Regions from separate parts of the Homo sapiens genome. Here all the other regions are linked to region 1. The links are contacts of gene promoters, found by promoter capture Hi-C in blood cells and fetal thymus (Javierre and others, 2016). All regions are on one chromosome and are shown on one strand. The core of a region is centred on a gene start or on the middle of the fragment in contact, and the rest is flanking DNA. Distances in the headings are between cores, read along the strand shown.

Evidence for each region. The method cuts DNA at HindIII sites, captures the fragments that hold promoters and counts their contacts. A CHiCAGO score of 5 or more calls a contact.
Region 2: the fragment with the promoter of TMEM237 here is called in contact with a fragment that was not itself captured in region 1 in 1 of 17 cell types (endothelial precursors); the score reaches 5.9 in endothelial precursors.
Region 3: the fragment with the promoter of CATSPERT here is called in contact with a fragment that was not itself captured in region 1 in 1 of 17 cell types (endothelial precursors); the score reaches 5.7 in endothelial precursors.
Region 4: a contact is called between the fragment with the promoter of TRAK2 here and a fragment that was not itself captured in region 1, in 10 of 17 cell types (naive CD4 T cells, fetal thymus, non-activated CD4 T cells and 7 more). The highest score is 9.7, in naive CD4 T cells.

The regions. Positions count from the first base shown.
Region 1 is chr2:201,182,659-201,186,123 of GRCh38, reverse strand. CASP10 (caspase 10) reads right to left here and starts at 2,983. Exons shown (of 10, transcript NM_032977.4): 1 at 2,816-2,983; 2 at 1-353. The coding sequence starts at 346. The HindIII fragment of the contact is 2,882 bases long and covers 280-3,161 here.
Region 2 is chr2:201,642,253-201,645,717 of GRCh38, reverse strand. TMEM237 (transmembrane protein 237) reads left to right here and starts at 2,215. Exons shown (of 13, transcript NM_001044385.3): 1 at 2,215-2,359. The coding sequence starts at 2,318. MPP4 (MAGUK p55 scaffold protein 4) reads left to right here. Exons shown (of 22, transcript NM_033066.3): 22 at 314-844. The coding sequence ends at 508. RefSeq lists silencers at 2,097-2,356, 2,927-3,116. The HindIII fragment of the contact is 8,699 bases long and covers 1-3,465 here.
Region 3 is chr2:201,617,314-201,620,778 of GRCh38, reverse strand. CATSPERT (catsper channel auxiliary subunit tau) reads left to right here and starts at 1,601. Exons shown (of 16, transcript NM_001168221.2): 1 at 1,601-1,879. The coding sequence starts at 1,649. It overlaps TMEM237 (transmembrane protein 237), which reads left to right. Exons shown (of 13, transcript NM_001044385.3): 13 at 1-593. The HindIII fragment of the contact is 11,514 bases long and covers 1-3,465 here.
Region 4 is chr2:201,449,907-201,453,371 of GRCh38, reverse strand. It overlaps TRAK2 (trafficking kinesin protein 2), which reads left to right and starts at 1,914. Exons shown (of 16, transcript NM_015049.3): 1 at 1,914-2,022. STRADB (STE20 related adaptor beta) reads right to left here and starts at 1,632. Exons shown (of 12, transcript NM_018571.6): 1 at 1,434-1,632. RefSeq lists a silencer at 1,062-1,741 and enhancers at 1,772-2,301, 1,705-2,559. The HindIII fragment of the contact is 1,586 bases long and covers 787-2,372 here.

The DNA.
Region 1 (3,465 bases), core at 471-2,970:
TAAACAGAGAAACCCTTTGTCGGGTGGGCAGCAGTCGCTCCACTTCCTCTTTGGTACAGTTGAGGTGCTGCAGCAGCTTCTTCTGCCGTATGATATAGAGGAGTTCTGCCAGGAAGAAAGGGTCTTCCTCACTCAGCAGATCCTCTGCCAAGAGATGTTCAAAAACATCTGAGGCTGAGCTGGACTTCTCCAGCTTCTTGTTGGGGACCAATCCTATGCAGAGAAACTTGAGGTTCTCCACATCTTGGACCCCCAGGTTTGAATCAATAATCAGAAGCTTCTCACGAAAGCTCACTTTACAGTTTTTATCTGAACTGGAATACCAATGTTGACCTTGAGATTTCATGGCCAGCCTGAAAGGGACAGAGAGGTGGGGCAGGGAGTTAGAGAGTGAGGACATATGGCCCCCTGACTTCCCAGGCCCTCCCCTCACCACAACCTTCTCCGTTCTGGGCATTAGACTTTCCTAGAAGTGCTGAAAAATAAAAATTACGGCGAGGCTACTTCAAAAAGCAACAGCCCAGAAAACTTTTCCCCAACACTTGCAAGTTACTTTTTAGGAAACTTGGAGGGTGCTTATATTGGAATTCAATTCACCTTGATTTCTCCCAAATCAAAATGTTCCCAGAGAGAGAAAGTTAAGATGGAGGGACACAGCACAATTTTTCTCAAGCCTGGTAGCCTGATTGGAGCCCTTACATTCATTTCCAGCACGTGGCAGAAATAGCACTTGGCTCTATGCTTTAAGTTTTAGACACAAAGCAATCTGGGGGAGGCAGGGTTATCCTTATGATCTATCAACCCAAAGACAGCAAGGTACCGTGAGGTATGTGTGTTACATCTTAACTTCAGACTGCTACCTGTAAGAGGGCAGGCCTTTATCTTACAGAAAGGGAAGGCATAATCCTAGACCTCAAGCCTGAGCAACATGGCGAGACCTGGTCTCTACTAAAAATACAAAAAATTATCAGGGCATGGTGGCACATGCCTGTGGTCCCAACTACTCAGGAGGCCGAGGATGGAAGGATCATTTGAGCCTGGGGAGCACAGGTTGCAGTGAGCCATGATCATGCCACTGCACTTCACCCTGGGTGACAGAGTGAGACCCTGTTTCAAAAAGAAAAATAAATAAATAAAATATCCTAGACCTCAGGAGGAAAGGGTGGTTTTAGACAAGAGTTGCTCAAATCAGTGTAGGAAGTTAAAAATTACATGAGTCGGCTGCTCTGTCTATGGAGTAGCCATTCTTTTGTTTCTTTACTTCTCTAATAAACTTGTTTTCACTAAAAAAAAACAAATTACATGAGTCAATGTTTCCATCTGATCAGTTTATAAACTATGCTATTCTCTATACTAAATTTCATCATAATCAGAGGAGCAATGCAGTGATAAAATTTTCATTGTAATACTATTTATTCTATAAGCACTTGAGGTATGTAGTCAATATGCAGAACTTGGCTATTTTTAGAAACAAGAAAATACTTTATAAAGGAAGGAACAGGTGGGGTGTCATGGCTTACGCCTATAATCCCAGCACTTTGGGAGGCCAAGGCGGGTGGATCACTTGAGGCCAGGAGTTCAAGACCAGACTGGGCAACGTGGTAAAACCCCATCTCTACAAAAAATACAAAAATTAGCCAGGCATGGTGGTGCACGCCTGTGGTCCCAACTACTCAGAGGGCTGAAGCAGAAGGATCATTTGAGCCCCGGGGATGGAGGTTCCAGTGAGCCATGATTGTGCCACTGCACTCCACCCTGGGTGACAGAGCAAGACCCTGCCTCAAAAACAAAACAAAACAACAACAAAAAAACCTCCTAGACCTCAGAAGGAAAGGGTGATTTTAGACAAGAGTTGCTCAAATCAGCGAAGGAAGATAAAAATTACATGAGTCAATGTTTCCATCTGACTAGTCTATAAACTATGGTATTCTACATACTAAATTTCATTATAATCAGAGAAGCACTTCAGGAGACTGAGGCAGGTGGATCACTGTGAGGCCAGGAATTCGGGACAAGCCTGGGCAACACGGTGAAACCCCGTCTCTACAAAAAATACAAAAATTAGCTGGGCTTGGTGGTGTATGCCTGTGGTCCCAGCTTCATAGGAAGCTGAGATGGGAGGATTGCTTGAACCTGGGAGGCGGAAGTTGCAGTAAGCCAAGATTGTGCCACTGCACTCCAGCTTGAGTGCTGGAGGGTGAAAGAGGGAGACTCCGTCTCAAATAAATAAATAGATAAATAAATAAATAAATAAATAAATAAATAAAGGAAGGAAGACACAGCAAAAATCAAAACCTCCATAACAAACAGTGGTTATATCGAGGTGACATAACTATAGATAATACAAATTTCCTTCTGGGCTTCCAATTGAATTTCTCAAATTTTATGCATATGTGAGCATACACATTACTTTTGGTGTTAAAAGAAACAAAAAAATGTCATTTTTAATGTGATAATCCAGGGGATCTTCCCTGCTACTAGCCCTGAGGTCAAATGAGTGGTTTATTGGAGACACCTTTCTATTCTACCGCATCTAGCATTTGCCTTGTGGTTTCTTGACAATTCTGATCTCTAGTTTTAGTGAGTCTACCAAACTTTGTCTCTGTGAGCTAACATATTTCTGCCCCGGTAAAAGGCTATGTTGGAGGCTTCCGGATTTTTTAACTTTTGTTTTCCCAGGCATGACAAAGAAATCTAAGAAAAAATAGTGCCATTGCTGACAAGTTTTTGCAAGTTTCTACAACACGAAGCCATGAAGCAAAGGAAAAGATTCAAGCATGAGACTCTGGAGTAAGAAGGGTTGTTAATTACATACCTTCAGATCAAGCTCCACCAATCTTCTGGAAGTAAACGGTTCTCAGGGAAATTGCCTGAAAACAAAGTTTTAAAGAAAGTAGAATCCTCTGTGTGCTCCAAGGTCCAAAGAAGCTCCCATTTGCTTGGGAAGAGACTTCAAGACTTGCTGGTTGTTTAAGTGAAAACTGAATCTTCAGGACTGGGTAGCCTGATACTAGTTTCCTGCTGATGTCATCACTGCTTATCTGCCTTTTTCCCTCCCCTTTTCCAGGGTTAAGATAACTTTGACAAACAGCGTCTCCTAAAGGCTAATTTACAACTTTCTCACTGTAGAGCTTGGGGTTTCCCCAGGTAAAGCAAAAGCTTCCTAGAAACGAACCCGTGGAAGCCACAAAGTGCTTCAGGCTTTCCTTTGGATCTCCATTTCCTTGGTAAGTCAAAAAGGGAAGCATCTGTTTTCCTAACCAACTCCTTCCCCAAACACACTTCACTTTTCAAATAAAGCCAAAAAGCTCATGAAATAGTTGTCGGCCATGTTAACCCTTTCTTATGTCCACATGCAAATAAACAATGGAGCGATCTCCACTTACCGCAACCTCTGCCTCCTGTGTTCAAGTGATTCTCCTGCCTCAACCTCCCGAGTAGCTGGGATTACAAGCATGCGCCACC
Region 2 (3,465 bases), core at 966-3,465, 460 kb before region 1:
GATGATCCTACTGCATGCCAGCCTGGGACAGAGTGGGACCCTGTCTAAAAAAAAAAAAAATTATTTTATCTATACTTAGCCACATTATTTCAATAACAGAGGGCAAAAAAATTACTATTTTCTAGTTTGCTGGTTTTGTAGAATTTTGAAAAAATATTTTTGAAACTTTATTGAAAATCATCTGTGCAAAATTTTCGGACCTTACTGTTTTTATACATAGTTTCACAACTGAATGTGACAGCATAACAAACTGTATTTTTTCCATTTGTCCAATTAAGTCTGTACTATCCATATTTTTCTATTTCTCCTAAAGGATGAAGACCTACAAGAGATGGAAAATTTAGCCCAAAGAATGGAAACTCAGTTTGGCCAATTTTTTGATCATGTGATTGTGAATGACAGCTTGCACGATGCATGTGCCCAGTTGTTGTCTGCCATACAGAAGGCTCAGGAGGAGCCTCAGTGGGTACCAGCAACATGGATTTCCTCAGATACTGAGTCTCAATGAGACTTCTTGTTTAATGCTGGAGTTTTAACACTGTACCCTTGATACAGCGATCCATAGTTGCAATCTAAAACAACAGTATTTGACCCATTTTAATGTGTACAACTTTAAAAGTGCAGCAATTTATTAATTAATCTTATTTGAAAAAAATTTTTATTGTATGGTTATGTGGTTACCTATTTTAACTTAATTTTTTTTCCTTTACCTCATATGCAGCTGTGGTAGAAATATGAATAATGTTAAGTCACTGAGTATGAGAACCTTTCGCAGATTTCACATGATCTTTTTAAGATTTAAATAAAGAGCTTTCCTAAATAAAATAAGCAATAGTTAACTTTAGAAACTGTACTCTATGAAACGTGTTTTATGAAAACATCTTTTACAAAAAGTGCTTACTTGACTAACTCAGCAAGAAAGGTTTAATGTACACATTTCACATCTAAAATCAAAACCTACAAGAAACTGCACTGCCTTCACTATTTACAAATCGGCCTACAAGGAAAAAATTATTCTCATGAGAGGTGTGACAAACACTAATTTTCCTTAACAGCCAATATCTACATGCAGGCCTAAATTAGAAAAAGGCAATGGATTAATCCCAGAGACCTATATATAGAAAATCACAAGAGTGAAACCGTGTCTCAGAGTTAAAGAAACCAGGGACTAACAGAAATTCTTGAGCATGCAGGACGGCAGATAAAAAACAACTTGCTAAATAAAACGCCTAAACTTCTTCCATTGTGAGATTAAAAAACAAAACAAAACAAAACAAAGCAAACTGGCTGAAAGTGGTTAGTACTAACACGGATGGCTACCTGGAGTCTGTACAAAATGAGCTTGCTGGCGTCACAGCTTGAATCTTTCCCCATGTTTCACACTGACTCCCTCCAAAATTTGCACATGCGACCCATGAAGGGACATGAAGAGGTAACTGCGAACGCCAGAGGATTTTCCAGATGGCTTCTTTCCTTCCACCAATCACCTACTAATCCCAGAATCCACCCCCTAAACGTTTTCTAATAAAAATACTGTCTTAAAGCCAACACAGGGAGACAGATTAGAGCTATACTCCTGTCTCCTTGTTAGCTGACTCACAATGAAAACTTTTCTCAAAAAATCAGCGCCATAATATTGGCTTCTGTGCGTATAGGGCAACAAGCCCCGTTTGTTTGGTAACAAGATTAGGATGCCATTACAAAGTGCTGTTTCTCTTTCTTTCCCCAGATTTGAGATTTCCAGGCGCTTTCCCTGTCCCTGTATCTGTTCATCTTCTGCATCATTCTCTTCTCCATATCCACACCATTCTTCCATCTTTCCCATTTCTTTCTTAACTGTAAAACAGAATGCATGATTCAAAATATTTGTAGTTCTCTGTTACTTAAAGTGAAAGTTATCTTTAAAAAAAAACAAACCCAACCAAACCAAACGATGCAAATCAGGTAGTTTGTAGTGATATTTATGTGAGGTTGGATTTGATTTTAAGGTTGAGAAAAAGTTTTTCCAAATTTGATTTACACAGTTGTGGGATGAAGGGTAAGCAATCGGAGAAAATGTGAGAATTGCCTATATTAATACACATCCACACACCCAGGCCTGCACAGACTCGTTGGTCCTGGAGAGTAAACGCATTCCTCCCAAACCCAGCAGCGCCTGGCAGGACAGAGGCGGGCGGGGACCTGGCTCAGGGGGCGGCTGCCTCGCCAGGCGCCACGAAGCCCCGGCGTCCCACAGGTCCCGGAGGCCGCTGCGTCGCGGGGAGCTGGGCTCGGGCCGCCGGCGGTTGCGCCGGGGCAGCCCCGCGGGGAGAGCACCATGAGGACTGACTCGGGGGCTCGGCTGGAGGAGGGCCACCTGGTGAGCGGCGAGGGGCGCGTCGGCCTCGAGAGGTGGCGGGTAAACAGCTACACTTGGCAGTGGGGGTGGGTGTGTGTGGGGGGGCGCCAACGAGCTGGGAATCACTAAGGGAGGGCCTTGCTCGTGGGGTGCGCGCATCCGCCCCTCCAGTGTTCACAGGAATGGGACGGAGACGCAGGCGAGGCCGGGACCGAACTCCCGGAGTGGGAGAGAGAGGCCTGGCATGAAGTTTGCGGGGACCTGAGCCCGCGTTGCCACGACGACGCCTCACTCATCTGAGGCCCGGGGCCCGGCGGGTGCCGGGGCTTCCAGCCAGGCCTCTCCTAGACTCCTCCGAGGAGAGGTCTGTAGCTGCCCAGAAGAGATCTGTTCGCCTGCGGAGTCCTTTAATTAAGGTCTTCCGTCACGCCCCGCTTCCCGCAAACAAATCACCGCCACCACTTAGGAAACCACGGGAAAGCTGTGATTGCAGCGCCACGGTCGCCAGATTTCTGCTCCTGGGCACATTACCCCCAACTCCGAGGCCCCCTTTTTGGCAGGGCTAGTCTGGACTGGCCAATCCAGGTCCCTGCACGCCTCTCACCGCAACATCCCCGCAGGGCGCTGCGCGCGGGGTACTAGCCAGGCGGCGCGGCCCGATGACGCATTGCGCCTGCGCGCGCGACCGAGCCGGGAGGGGTGGGGCGCCAGGTGCTTGGGGGCCGGCGGCCGCCGAGGCCGGCTAAACGCAGAATGGGGAAGAATCCTGTGGTAAGCGAGCCTTAGCTACTTTTAATTGTTAGGATTTTTGTCTTCAGTTGAGCCGTCCTACTTTTGAGGATTAGAGGTTGGGTCTCTGGGTGGGTGGAACGTCATTTTTGCGGGACTTTTGAAATCAGTTACGTGAACAGAGCCCTGGGATCGATCGCGCGCGCTTCGTAGCATCTTTAGAACAATAGCGCGTTCCTGTGACTGTCATTCTTCTCCAATTGTAATTTTGACTACTGGATGGTATTACGGCAGCTTGCCTCGTCCTAATCTTGTAGTACTTGCATTAATCTACTGTTCGAACGAATGGATTGCTAAATGGGACAAACTACAAGAGTGTCTAAAATTTAACCCTTTTG
Region 3 (3,465 bases), core at 352-2,851, 430 kb before region 1:
TTTCATGCACAGATGTCTGATAATGAGGACTATCATTAAAAGACTGCACAAAACCACACCTTGCACAAAGGCCATCACAACCTGACACACACAAAAAATACTTCTATGAGGACATTTGCCCAGCAACTCCCTGTCCAATGTCCAACTGGCAACATCCTTGTTATTGATCCTTGTAGCCAAGGATAATTCTCTCAAAACAATCATTTTTGCTTTAAAAACCGTTGTCTTCCTTGACCTCCCTGTATATGCACATAGTTTACTGTGGCACTTGTATTCTTATTGCAATGCCTACTCCTGAATAAACATCATTTTCTTTCAGAGAGTCTCCCTCTCTGTTATTTAGGCTGACAAGGATATGCCAAGAAGTAGCTTGGATATAGCAGTTAACTCTGCCTTTAGGATATGTGTATGGGGATATAAGAGTTAACTAAAAGCTGACCTTTGAGTTGGTCCTTGAATAAAAGAAGAATAGATTCCAAAAATAAGAGGAATAAATAATGATCCTGAGCTAGGAGAGTACATTTTGCAGACCTTTGGTTTCCATATTAAGAAATTCAGATTTTTATGTACAATAAAGAAGTTCTGGAATTCTCTGGTTTTGTTCTGTTTGCATTTATTTATATTTTTAACTTTTAGGTTCAAGGGTACATGTGCAGGTTTGTTATATAGGTAAATTTTGTGTCATGGGGGTGTACAGATTATTTCATCACCCAGGTAATAAGCCTAGTGCCCAAAAGGTAGTTTTTGATCCTCTCCCGCCTCCCACCCTTCGCCGTCAAGTAGGCCCCAGTGTCTGTTGCTCCCCTCTTTGTGTCCATGTGTTCTCATTGTTTAGCTCGCATTTATAAGTGAGAACGTGGTATTTGGTTTTCTGTTCCTGTGTTAGTCTGCTTAGGATAATGGCCTTCAGCTCCATTCGTTACTGCAAAGGACTAATACGGGGGCAGTGAAAGGGATGGATGACAGCAGGTTGGCAGACCCATGAGTAAATCATTGCAATTGTCTCGTGTGTGTGTTGTCCCAAATTAGGTGCCATAAAGGGAAAAGGTAAGTAAGATTCAGATATTTAGGGTCAGAATTTTAAAATGTGTCTGAATGTTTAAGATTTTGTGGATATGACATTGCTGCACCAAATGAGTTTGGAACCTACTAGAGGTTTAAGAGGGAAGATGAATATTAACGTGTTATGTGTCTGTGGAACAATTGGGTAAAGATGTCAAAGTAGACTGTTGGATATTTAACGTCTGGAGCTCACGGGACAGTGTAGAGGAAGTAATGACTGACACTGTAAATCTTCTAGAAAGAAATGGTGCAGGGAGAAAAGGACTCGTGAGGGCTACAGGGCGGACAAGACAGTGAACTAAAGTGGTTGGGCCCCATGAGGGGCCTTGCTCTCCACCAGCGTGCTCTGATTTCCTTCTAAAGGAGACTGAAATGGCCTGGCAAGTGCTTGCAGCAGACCCTCCAGGCTCGCTAAGCACGCATGCTTCCAAAGCTGCCTCCAGCCACTCCCAGCATGGGCCCGGCCTGAGTGGGTCACTAGGCGGCACGCACGCGCTGGGAAAATGTGAGAAAGGCTGCGGGAGGGCCGCGCCTGCGCAGTAGCGGGCCGTCGGTTGGGCGCAGACAGGCCGCAGAAGATGGAGAGATGGAGCCACCCCAAGAGACAAATAGGCCTTTCAGCACACTTGATAACCGCAGCGGGCAGGTCCAAGTCCTGTCCGCCACCCCGCTATTGCAGAGGAATCCCTACAGCAGCCCGGATATCATGCACATTAAAGGGTCGGAGGCTTCTTCGGTCCCTTACGCCCTGAACCAGGGCACGACGGCCCTGCCTAAGAACAAGAACCAGGAGGGCACCGGGCACCGGCTGCTGAACGTGAGTGAGCGGGGGCCTGGCCGGCACCTGGAGGACCGGGGCCAGCAGGGCACCTGGAGGGTGGTGAAAGGATTAAAGGGTTCAATGTGTGCCAATTGCATCTCCCTTCAATTGGCACACATTGAACCCTTTAATCCTTTTTTTTTTCGTTTATAGCAATTCCTTTTTTTTATTTTTATTTTTTATTTTTTATTATACTTTAAGTTCTAGGGTACATGTGCACAACGTGCAGGTTTGTTACATAGGTATACATGTGCCATGTTGGTGTGCTGCACCCATTAACTCGTCATTTACATTAGGTATATCTCCTAATGCTATCCCTCCTCCCTCCCCCCAACCCACGACAGGCCGTGGTGTGTGATGTTCCCCCCCCGTGTCCAAGTATTCTCATTGTTCAATTCCCACCTATGAGTGAGAACATGCAGTGTTTGGTTTTCTGTCCTTGCGATAGTTTGCTGAGAATGATGGTTTCCAGCTTCATCCATGACCCCACAAAGGACATGAACTCATCCTTTTTATATGGCTGCATAGTATTCCATGGTGTATATGTGCCACATTTTCTTAATCCAGTCTGTCATTGATGGACATTTGGGTTGGTTCCTAGTCTTTGCCATTGTGAATAGTGCCATAATAAACATATGTGTGCACGTGACTTTATAGCAGCATGATTTATAATCCTTTGGGTATATGCCCAGTAATGGGATGGCTGGGTCAAATGGTATTTCTAGTTCTAGACCCTTGAGGAATCGCCACACTGTCTTCCACAATGGTTGAACTAGTTTACACTCCCACCAACAGTGTAAAAGCGTTCCTATTTCTCCACATCCTCTCCAGCACCTGTTGTTTCCTGACTTTTTAATGATTGCCATTCTAACTGGTGTGAGATGGTATCTCATTGTGGTTTTGATTTGCATTTCTCTGATGGCCAGTGATGATGAGCATTTTTTCATGTGTCTGTTGGCTGCATAAATGTCTTCTTTTGAGAAGTGTCTGTTCATATACTTTGCCCACTTTTTGATGGGGTTGTTTGTTTTTTTCTTGTAAATTTGTTTCAGTTCTTTGTAGATTCTGGATATTAGCCCTTTGTCAGATGGATAGATTGCAAAAATTTTCTCCCATTCTGTAGGCTGCCTGTTCACTCTGATGCTAGTTTCTTTTGCTGTGCAGAAGCTCTTTAGTTTAACTAGATCCCATTTGTCGATTTTGGCTTTGGTTGCCATTGCTTTTGGTGTTTTAGTCATGAAGTCCTTGGCCATGCCTATATCCTGAATGGTATTGGCTAGGTTTTCTTCTAGGGTTTTTATGGTTTTAGGTCTAACATTTAAGTCTTTAATCCATCTTGAATTAATTTTTGTATAAGGCGTAAGGAAGGGATCCAGTTTCAGCTTTCTACGTATGGCGAGCCAGTTTTCCCAACACCATTTATTAAATAGAGAATCCTTTCCCCATTTCTTGTTTATGTCAGGTTTGTCAAAGATCGGATGGTTGTAGATGTGTGGTATTATTTCCGGGGGCTCTATTCTGTTCCATTGGTCTATATCTCTGTTTTGGTACCAGTACCATGATGTTTTGGTTACTGTAGCCTT
Region 4 (3,465 bases), core at 665-3,164, 270 kb before region 1:
CAAGCAGAAGGGTTATGGATGTCATGATTAACCAAATTTTCTGGTTATCATGATTTTGTATCCTGCTTTTTTCACTCAATGTCAGCAAGTTGTTACTGATTTTGTCTTAATAATGTGAAACTCCATTACGTTGTCTATTTTTTTCTCTTTTTCAGAAAAGCTCAGAAGAAACAGACACAATCTGGTAAGAATTGTTAGTAATAAAAGGGTTGTCCCTATGGGGTGGTTTAATCTCAGAGATTTTTGCCTTAGATACACCAGACTATTAAGAGATAATTTTACAAGACATTTTGAGGTCAAGGCAGCAGCTGCACCCAGCAAAGGGGTGGGGGTGGGGGATTTGCTGTTATTATAATTTTCTCCGGCATGCTCTTTCACGAGATATGAATATAAACCCTTTCTTAAAAAAAAGTCATATTTAAGAGACTTATATTTCGTATTCACAAGTACATCAGTGCAGTCCCTTACACTTGTATCCAAAACGCTAATTACGATAAAGCTTTATAAGTAATTTCAGTTTGTTCCATAATAGAATGGTTCATGTGAAGACTTTGATCTGAAAGATTAACACTTTCTGTAGAAACCAAAGGGCGCATCTTCTAGAACACGGGTTTTGAGTTAATTTAGGCATTCAACAGAGGCCACTGTTACAGGGAATGCAAAAATGACCCGATGTAACTCTTTGTTGAGCTTTAAAATTACTGTAATTTTCAAAGTGATCTTGGGAACCCATAAAATCTTAACAAAGATCATAGCGACGCACAGTTCAGGAGAATTTTCCAAGCTTAGTGACTCATGCGTTCAACAAATCTTTACTGAGCGCCTACTGGGTGCCAGGCACCGTGCTAAGCAGGCGCCGTGTTACACATCCGTATCAAGTTTTGGGGAAAAGGTACTTGACAAAGACCCAGCAGGGAAAAACACAGCGTTGAATTGAAAAACCGAAGACAAAACGACACTCGAGTATTTAATTTTGTAAAAGGTTCCTTCCTAGTCCTGCTATGGGGGACTTTGCAGCGAACTTGCAGAAGGCGGCAGATAGAGCTGGGGTCTGAGGGTGTCTTCGATATGGCAACTCCCCAAGCCCGAGAGCGCGGCCAAAGGTGAGGGGTGCGGGGAGAGGGCGCCCGGGCGGCCTGGGCCCCGCGCACCTGGCACGGCCGGCACGGCCAACCCGGCAGGCACCACTGGGCGGGCTGCGAACCCGCGGCCCGGGCCCCGCTGAGCCCGAGCTGCACTGGCGCAGTGGCTGCTCGCCACCTCGGGCCGCATTCTTGCCACGGCTCCCGCCAGCCGCCGGTGCTCGGGCTGGAGGTGGGCTAGCGCGTTCTGGCCTCTGGCTTCCCGGGCGTGCGCGGACCAAGGCTCACTCCCTCACACGTCCCCCACCGGCCCCGACACCTTCCCTTCCCGGGCCTGCCTCCCGTCTTTACCCTAGCGGCGACCACGGCCAGCGACTCTCTTCAGGCTGCCAGCGGTGCGGACAGGGGCGGGCGCCAGAGCCCTGCTCGCGGAGGGGCGAGGCGAGCGCTCTAGGCCCGCTCCCGGCGCGGGGCGCGGGAGGGCGGCGAGGCCGCGACCGGGGCCGTGGGCTTGGAACTCTGCACCAGTCCCAGGCTACCCGCTGGGAACGCATTCGCCCCACCCGCGCCGGGGTCGCGGCCCCGCCTCCCTCCCCGGGGCTGGGCAGCGAGAAGGCGGGGCCTTCGAGCTTGAGGCGGGGCGGGCAGGAAACTACAATTCCCAGCAGGTCTTGCGCTGGGGCCGTGGAGGCCGCTGGGAGAGTGGCTCTCCTTTGGCTTCCCCAATTGTGTGGGGGCTGCCATTGACCCGGTGTCGCCGCAGAACCGAGGTCGCCGAGTGATGATGTTGTGAAGTCGCCCGCCTGTCCCTGCCACGCCCGGGCGGTTGCTGGCAGTGGGAGCAGCGGCAGCAGCTTCGGCTGCTGCTTTCAGGCTGCCGCTGCATTAGGGGCTTCCTGAGGAAGCGCGGGCGGACGACAGAGGATGCCGAACCACTCCAGTGAGTAAGCTGTCCGCGCAGAACCCGAACTTGCCCTTGACAACTTCCCCGGAAAGCGGAGGGACCTCCTCGTCCCAAGGTCCTCCGGTACCCGGAGGTCACGCGCGGACGTCGGAGCCGGAGGCTGGGTGCTGGAGGGCTGGGTCCGGGTCCCGCGGTGAGGCGTGGGTTGTTTCCTAAGTGTGGGTGCAAAGTAATGGGCGCTAGGCGCTGGCGTCGGTATTCAGCCCAGCTGCACATCTGAGGCTTGGCAGCTTCTCATAGCGCCTTATCCTCTGCCATACAGCATCCATCTGGAGCCCTGTCTTTTAGGATGAGTGGCTTTAGGGTCGGGCATTAAACCTTAAGCTTCAGTCGCCATCTGTGATGTAAGTGGGAGGAGAGGGTATTGGAAAGAGCTCTTTCTGGGTCAAATAGAGTTGGGCTTTTCTTGCAATTGATTTTGAGCCAGATGCCACATATCTTGAAAAAGAAAAACGGCTGACTTTAGTTTGAAGCGTAAATAATAGATATTCGCACATGTCCTTTTTAGTAGCAGCCCAAAAATTGAATTTCAACTTAAAAAAAAATCTGCGTCATAATAATAGGGATGTTACTTGCTCTTGCTCATGCACCTTTTGCTTAGACCTGCTGTTTCTACGTCAGAAAAAAAAAAAAAAAAGGTAACTTCACAGGATATTCATCAAGTTGATGGAATGGACCATAGGAACAAAAGGAACACTTTCAGTTCTTGGTCTCCGTAAATCTTCCCGACCTTTAGATCTTTGCTGTTGACTTGGAAGTCTGAGGTACAGTAGTCTCCAAATAGCAGGTTAATGGTGGTGACATGACACTTAAAAACAAATTGTGAAGGACATTTGGAGGTGAGAAAGGTCAGGGATGAAGACATTTTATCATCCTAGCAGTTATTCCAACTTTCTTTTCTTTTTTTTTTTTAAGACAGAGTCTCGCTCTGTCGCCAGGCTGGAGTGCAGTGGGGTGATCTCGGCTCACTGCAACCTCCGCCTCCCGGATTCAAGCGATTCTCCTGCCTCAGCCTGCAGAGTAGCTGGGACTACAGGCGCGCACCACCACGCCCAGCTAATTTTTGTGTTTTTAGTAGAGATGGGGTTTCACCATGTTGGCCAGGATGGTCTCGATCTCTTGACCTCATGATCCACCCGCTTTGGCCTCCCAAAGTGCTGGGATTACAGACGTGAGCCGCCACACCCAGCTCCAGTTTTCTATTTTTAAAATTAAGTAATGTCCAGCAAGTCTCAGACATTTAGCAAGCACATACCATGTGAAAGACAGTGTTTTGTTATCTTACACACTTATTCATATGATGGAAGAGGTTTGTTAGAAAGAACCAACATTTGGCCGGGCGCTGTGGCTCACTCCTGTAATCCCAGCACTTTGGGAGGCCAAGGAGGACAGATCTCCTGAGGTGGAGAGTTCAAGAAC